2 separate regions of the Homo sapiens genome follow, and region 2 is linked to region 1. Evidence: promoter capture Hi-C in 16 types of primary human blood cells and fetal thymus (Javierre and others, 2016). All regions are on one chromosome and are shown on one strand. The core of a region is centred on a gene start or on the middle of the fragment in contact, and the rest is flanking DNA. Distances in the headings are between cores, read along the strand shown. Region 1 holds the start of SNX33 (sorting nexin 33). Region 2 overlaps SNUPN (snurportin 1).

The links. Contacts are between HindIII fragments. The CHiCAGO score rates a contact against its expected background, and 5 or more counts as called.
Region 2: a contact is called between a fragment that was not itself captured here and the fragment with the promoter of SNX33 in region 1, in 2 of 17 cell types (naive CD4 T cells and megakaryocytes). The highest score is 5.7, in naive CD4 T cells.

Annotation. Positions count from the first base shown.
Region 1 is chr15:75,646,481-75,649,946 of GRCh38, reverse strand. It overlaps SNX33 (sorting nexin 33), which reads right to left and starts at 2,035. Exons shown (of 2, transcript NM_153271.2): 1 at 1-2,035. The coding sequence starts at 844. RefSeq lists an enhancer at 1,560-2,251 and a silencer at 1,877-2,416. The HindIII fragment of the contact is 30,102 bases long and covers 1-3,395 here.
Region 2 is chr15:75,596,480-75,600,066 of GRCh38, reverse strand. It overlaps SNUPN (snurportin 1), which reads left to right. Exons shown (of 9, transcript NM_005701.4): 9 at 1,386-1,981. The coding sequence ends at 1,709. Among named protein-coding and RNA genes, the nearest start is that of PTPN9, 19 kb to the right of the region's middle. The HindIII fragment of the contact is 294 bases long and covers 2,006-2,299 here.

The DNA.
Region 1 (3,466 bases), core at 786-3,285:
TGAACTTGTGTAGCAGGCGGTTATAGAGCCAGTCAAAGTGTTTGTAGCGCCGGTAGACGGGTGAGGCAGCATGGGTGGGTGTGAGCTTGTAGGAGATGTAGCTTTTGATGCCCTTGAATTTGGTCTGTTTTGTGGGGTCCTCCACAGAGCAGGCAAATGGGTGGGGATTGGCCTTCCACTGGGGGCCACGAGGGCCCATTTCAATGGAGTATGTCTCAGCGATCTTGGCCATCATGGGCACATCACCCAGGATGAAGGCCTCCACTCCAGAACGCACAAAGCATGAGAAACGGTTGAGGTTACGGCCCACCACACTGCCTCGCTTGGCAGATGCCAGGCTGTCCTGCCGCTCCAGTGGTGGCTTGGGCCGGAAGGCCATGTGCTGGCTGGGGTAGGCACCAGGGTAGGAGAGGTTGAGGGGAGGGTGCCCGTTGGTGCCCAGCCCACCAGCCCGTGGCTCCTCCACCACTGTGCATCCGTCGTCCCAGTCATCCCAGTCATCATCATCATCCTCCTCAAAGCTACCCTGGTTTGAGAGGAAGCCACTGCCCCCACCACTCCTAGCTGGGCTGGCCACACTGGGGCTGTTGTACAAGCTCACCTGGGCTCCGGGAGAGCCTGCAGGGCTGCTGGAGTAGTCAGCATGGTTGGTGCTGATGCCAGAACGGACGATCTCCACATAAGAGGCAGGAAAGAGCCCTGTCTCCCCACGGCTGTTCTGGCCCTGCAGCCAGCCATCCAGTGAGGTCTCGCTAAAGATGACCAGGTCCTCATCCTGCTGGATGCTGATTTCCTCCTTGTTCTCACTGTGAAAGTCATAGAGGGCTCGGCCTTTCAGTGCCATGGCTGGGCTGGGTGGTATAGAAAGATGGGAAGGAGAGGGTCCTGCCCAGACCGGGGATGCTCACAAGGCAGTCCAAGAATGCACTCGCAGCTGAATGGCGCTTACACAGTTCAATCTCTCAGGTCCTAAGGTGGGGTCTCAGCACCCACAGATGCTGTCCAGTCTCCCCCTCTTCAAAGCAATGTCCATGGCCCAGAAACTGCCCTATCAGGTCTCCGGGCATATGCTTGTGAGCAGGGAGGGCTCATGTCCACAGTCTCCTCCTCCCTTAGCAGCCTCTGGGGGGTTAGAGGGGAATCTCTCCTAACTCCTACTCCCAGAAGAAAAGTCAAGTGACCTGGAGAAATCTGCCCTGCGAGGGGAAAAATTCGACACTTTCCACTGGAACAACGTTCTAAAATAGAAGAGACTCACTCTGAAACCACCATTCCAGAAACCCGGGCAGGGCTCGGCTGTCCCTCTGGCTCCCAGATTCTTTTGGCGGCTCTCGCTTTGGGAGGCTCTCACATTCCTCTGCAGATCTGCCCCTTCCTCCTTCCTCCTCTTGCTCCTGGGCCACTGGGTTTTCAAAAATCCGGAAAATCCAAGAGGGGCAAGGAGAAAAGCAGCAGCCGCCTGAATCGAGTCCAAGGGTGGATGTGTCCGGCTTCACAACGAGCCAGGCCGGGAAAACAAGGACTGAGGCTTACACAACAGGCCGCCAACTCTTCGACCCCGGCTGCGCAGCCGGAGCCCCCGCCGGCTCGGGCGCCCTCTCCCCGCCCCAGAAGTGGCCAGCCCCAACCCCGGAGGAAGGAGGGGGCGCGACGAGGCTGTCGGGCGACTTCTAGCCACTCGCTGAGTGGTCTCTTTTGTTTGCCTAATTCCTCAGCAGTTTCTGAGCCTGACGCTGACCCTGCTCTGAATCCCAGGAACCCCGTCCAAAGGTAACCCCAGCAGAAACCGGTTCCTCACCCGGGACTTACGACCCCCGATCACCACCCTCGCGTGCACGCACACACTCAACAGTTTGGAGTTTGGAGAGTGAGCTCCGGCGAGCAGATGGCGCGGCCAGCCGTCTGTCCGTCCGTCCTCCTCTCCGCCCTGCGGGGCCCGGCCAGTGGGGGGCGGGCTGCGCCCCCAGCCTGCCTTCCCCGGCGCTCGCAGACCCTCCGCTCCGCCAGCGAGAAGGCAGCTCCAAAACAAAAAGGCGATTCCGGGAGGTGGCGTCCTGAGGAAGGAGGGGATCGCCAAAGGGGAGGTGAGGGGTGGGGAGAGGGAGGAGGGAGGGGGAAGCAGGCTGGAGAATCGGGCAAACTCCGCTGCACTTCCGTGCGTCCCGGCGGGGCAGGGACGGCCAGCTCCGCCCTCCCGCGGGCCCGGGGCGCTGCAGCCGAGCCCCCGCCTACTCCTCCGCGCGGCTTCCCAGCTGGCCAGCGCCCTCGCTCGCTGGCGCTCAGTCCGGGAGGCGAGAGGGAGGAAACGACCCGGGAACGAGGGGGCCCGAGAGCCTCCGGGGCTGGTCCCTGGGACCGCCACCTCCCCTCCTCTCCCTCCGCCTGTCCGCCCTCGCCGGGAGACACCTCACGCCCCCGTGGTTGGAGCGCCCGGCGGGGGAGCTTGCCAGCTGCCGCTGCCTCGCTTCCTGGACTCCGTCATCCTCCTGCCTTTTCCGTGACGCAAATGGAGTAAAACTCCGAAAGTTTGCAAAGCGTGGGGCTGCAAGGAGCACCGCGCCAGAGCCAGGATCGGGAGATCGGGGTGGGGGGAGGGGGGTGCGTGGAAAGCCGCCGCGCCAGCTGGGGTTGGGGAGCAGAGTCGCGGACTCGCCTTCCCACCTTCCCATTCCCCACTCCTGCTCCGCAGGGACGGGTCGTGGCGCAGCTCAGAGATTGTTTTCCGGAGGAACAGAAACGGCCTGCGCGTTCCAGGCGTCTGACCTAAGATACCGAGAGCTGCGGGTGCAGCACCCTAGCCAGACAGGGCGACCCTGCCCTGGGCGACTAGCTTGGAAGGAGGGAAAGACACTACTCTACATCTGCAGCGACAGGGAACAAGTCTAGGTGCCACCCGGTTCCGTGTTGCTTAGTACAGCAGCGGGGACTGGATGTTCTGTGCTAGCCAGCGGCAGCAAGGAGAGAAGTGGTCAGGTAGAGAATCTTCGAGAAGAGGCAAGTGGGATCTGACCCTCGGTCAGCATATCGGGAACACTTTGGGCATTGATTCTGCTAGGCACTGTGCTGGGCACTGGGGAGTAGTACACCACAAGGCAGTCGGGGTTTCTATCCTGGGGGGCTTACAGTCCACCCTCTCTTGTCTTTAATCAATCCATTCTGTCTCAGTCATTCATTCAGCCAAGTCATGCACTCAAGAAACATTAACTGAGTACCTACTCTGCACCAGGCCCCTGAGCTACAAAGACAAATAAGACATTATCCTTATTTTCCAAAAGCTCAGATATGTTGTGACAAGTAGACAAATGCTCCCTGCCCAGTGTGACTAGTTAGTGCCATGAAAAGTGCACATGAGGGTACCTACCCCAGCCTGGGTAGAGCAAGGATCAAGGAAAGCTTCCTGAAGGAGGAAGTGCCTAAGATGAGGCAAAGGCTTCAGGAGGACTCCCTTTCCTGGCTATACCCTGGA
Region 2 (3,587 bases), core at 903-3,402, 50 kb after region 1:
CAAGACCAGCCTCGCCAACATGGTGAAACCCCGGCTCTACTAACAATACAAAAATTAGCCAGGCATGGTGGCACACGCCTGTAGTCCCAGCTACTTGGGAAGTTGAGGCAGGAGAATCTCTTGAACCCGGGAGGCGGAGGTTGCACTGAGCTGAGATCGCACCACCGCACTCCACTGCAGCCTGGGCAACGAGCGAAACTCCATCTCAGAAAGAAAAAAAAAAAAAAAAATCTGCCCAGTCACTGCAAGCATTTGCTTGAACTGGATGTAATTTTATATAAGGATCACAGCTTCCCAAATAAGGAAATGGCAAAGGCTGAGTTGCCAGCATTTCTGGGAGTCAATTAAGAAGGTGGTAAGAATACCATCTTTATTTATAACCCTTATGCCCCAGTGACAATAAATGCTTTTTAGAGATGAGTCACTGAATCATAGAAAATAAAATGTGGGACTGTAGGAGGTCTTCCCGTTGAGAAAAACTGTTTCCCAGAACATGGCTCACAAACAATTTAGGGGGAGGTTTAGGCAACCAACAGTAGCCAGGGAAGCAGGGCATCTGGACAGCCTGTTTCCACTGTGTGCAGCAATCTGCTGCCCCGGAGGGGCCTGTCCAGTTCCTCTGCTTTTCATTCCATGCACAGAGCTCATCCACCACAACACAGACCCCTAAGTGGTGGAAAGTCCGTGGAATCTGGGGACAGAAGACCAGAGTTCAAGTTGAAGTCCTGCTTCCTACTCACTGTGTGTTTTAAGGAGGTCCTCAGAACTCCCTGAGTATGAGCAGCCCCATCTCTCAGACACCGTCATGGGTAAGATAGTAAAATAGTGGGCAGGAAAGCACTCTGTAAACAGGAAAGTGCTATTTATGTTTATCCTTTCCTTTTTTTTTTTCTTTTTTTGAGACAGAGTCTCACTCTGTCGCCAGGCTGGAGTGCAGTGGTGCAGTCTCAGCTCACTGCATCCTCTGCCTACTGGGTTCAAGCGGTTGTCGTGTCTCAGACACCCGAGTAGCTGGGATTACAGGCATGTGCCACACATGCCTGGCTATTTTTTTGAATTTTTAGTAGAAATGGAGTCTTACCATGTTGCCCAGGCTGGTCTCAAACTCCTGAGCTCAAGCAATCTGCCTGCCTCAGCCTCCAAAGTGCTGGAATTATAAGCATGAGCCACCACGCCCAGCCAATGTTTTTATTTTCTCAAATTTAGTTTTCTAGGCCATTTCTTTATTTAGAGAAACGGCATGTGTGAGAAGCTGGGACTCTTTCCTCTGTCAGTGACCCAGAAAAAGGAGTCGGACCACAAGAGCTGCCCTTGTGTGTATAGGCTCTCCTGGAAACATGTGGCCCCAGAAGTCATTTGATCCTCAATTTCCCCTTGTCTTATAGGTAGATGGACTTCTCTTCTACCACAAACAGACCCACTACAGCCCCGGAAGCACTCCCTTGGTGGGCTGGCTGCGCCCCTACATGGTGTCAGATGTCCTTGGTGTAGCTGTGCCGGCTGGCCCGCTGACCACCAAGCCAGACTATGCTGGGCACCAGCTCCAGCAGATTATGGAGCACAAGAAGAGCCAGAAGGAAGGCATGAAGGAGAAACTCACACACAAGGCCTCTGAGAATGGGCACTATGAATTGGAGCACCTGTCTACTCCCAAGTTGAAGGGTTCTTCCCATAGCCCAGACCACCCTGGATGCCTCATGGAGAATTAAAGAGAGAAGCCTCCTTAAGGAGCCACAGGATGGTACCTGGCCCCAAAAGGAATCCTGGAGAGGAGGACAGTGACAACAGGTGACTTCATTCTTTAGAGTGAACTTTCCAAACCCAGTCCAGCTGGAAACAGCTTATCTATAATCTGAAATGCTGGCTCAAACAGTTATGGGGAGGTTCCCAGATTGCGTAGCATTCAGATTGATTTGAGCAGCTCCTACTGTGATAAGTGTATCCCAGATCCACAATGTAAATATATGTGATTTGTAAGAAAGAACTGGTTTGTGGTTCTTAAGCTTTAGATAGCCATGAATCTCCCCTTCCCATCTCAGTCCCCTGGGCTACTTCAACCATGGCTGTTCAAGTCTTGGCCCATTTCACTCTTTTTAGTACTCAAAGATTCTGCTGAGTTTCCAGTTGCTGCTGCCGCCGAAAGGTTTTACCAGGAACTGCAATTCTGGGTATTTGAATATGTTCCCTCTTCTGAGAAGACAAGTGTGATTTTCTTTGGTTTAGACATTGCCAGAGATAAAATGCAAATGTAGTTCATTCACTCCTTCAGCAAACATTTGTGCCTACCAGGAGATAAGCTTGTCCTAGGCCCCTGCCAAGTAGAGGGGTTATGGAGGTGGACAGTACTTAGTCCCTGCCCTTGAGGAGCTCACACTCCTGTGAGAAAAGAAGCCCACCAGGACAGTTTGGGAGAAGAGGCTGGAGAGAGATAGCAGGTTTTAGATTTTGTGTCATGGATGAAAGGAGCTAAGAAAGAACTTTGAGCAGGCAAGGTCTCTTGAGATTTGTGAACTGGAGGTCTTTGGCAGCTGTGAGAATGGAAGATTGTGTTGGAAACTGACTAATTAGTTTCTGCTTTGTATTCAGGAAATGGATCCCACTTCCTGTGGCTTCAGTCAGCTCCCATATTGCTTCCCATCTTTCTAGGACTCTGTCATGGATACAAGTACTTCACCATTCCCTCCAGCAGCACTAGTGTCCTGTGGACAGATTTTCACAGGGATCCAGGTCAGCTCTTGTCTGACATGCAGTGGTCCCTGCATGTTGATTAGTTCTGGGAACAGATTTGGGCAGAGGTAGTAGTTATTTGGAGCCTGATTATACAACTTCAGTACATCCAGTGGAACTAGTCTTAGTGTCGGCTCTTAGAGAGTTGCTCAAGCTGACCTTGTAAAATTGGAAGACTCCCCGCTCCCACCCTCATCCATTGATGATCCTGCTGGCTGCAGATTCAAGCATTTGCCTACATCAATAAGCTCTTTCCTGAATTTAGGTCAATTCTGTAATAGGAACATTGTGTTCCTCTTGCCAAGGAGCATGTTTTAAGTGCCTAAACATTTAGTCTCTGTTTGATAATTTTCTGAGTGCTCTAGTCTGTGCTATCAGCAGCCAACCATATCAGTTCAGAAGCTATGCATGCTAGTGTCAATAGTGACTTGGCCATACTCTGTTCAGAAATAATCAGGTCTGGAAGGACTACTTCCCCAAAGGGCGCACACAGGCACTACAGGCACACACACTCTGGGGACAGCTGCATGAATCAAAGGATATATCAGCCAAAATTATCAACAATCACAACTTGATTTTTTTTTTTTTATTTTGGGATAGAGTCTTGCTGTGTTGCCCAGGCTGGAGTGCAGTGGCACAGTCTCGGCTCACTGCAACCTCCGCCTCCCCAGTTCAGACGATTCTCCTGCCTCACCCTCCTGAGTAGCTGGGATTACAGGGGTGAGCCACTGCGCCCAGAGACTATAACAGCTTTCAATGAGGTCTGTGAGTCCTTGTGGCGAATTATATAACCAGAGGGTAGTCTTAGGGTTCCCCAAACTTGCAACTGGTATCCAAAGTAACGGTAGTCTGTGGACTAT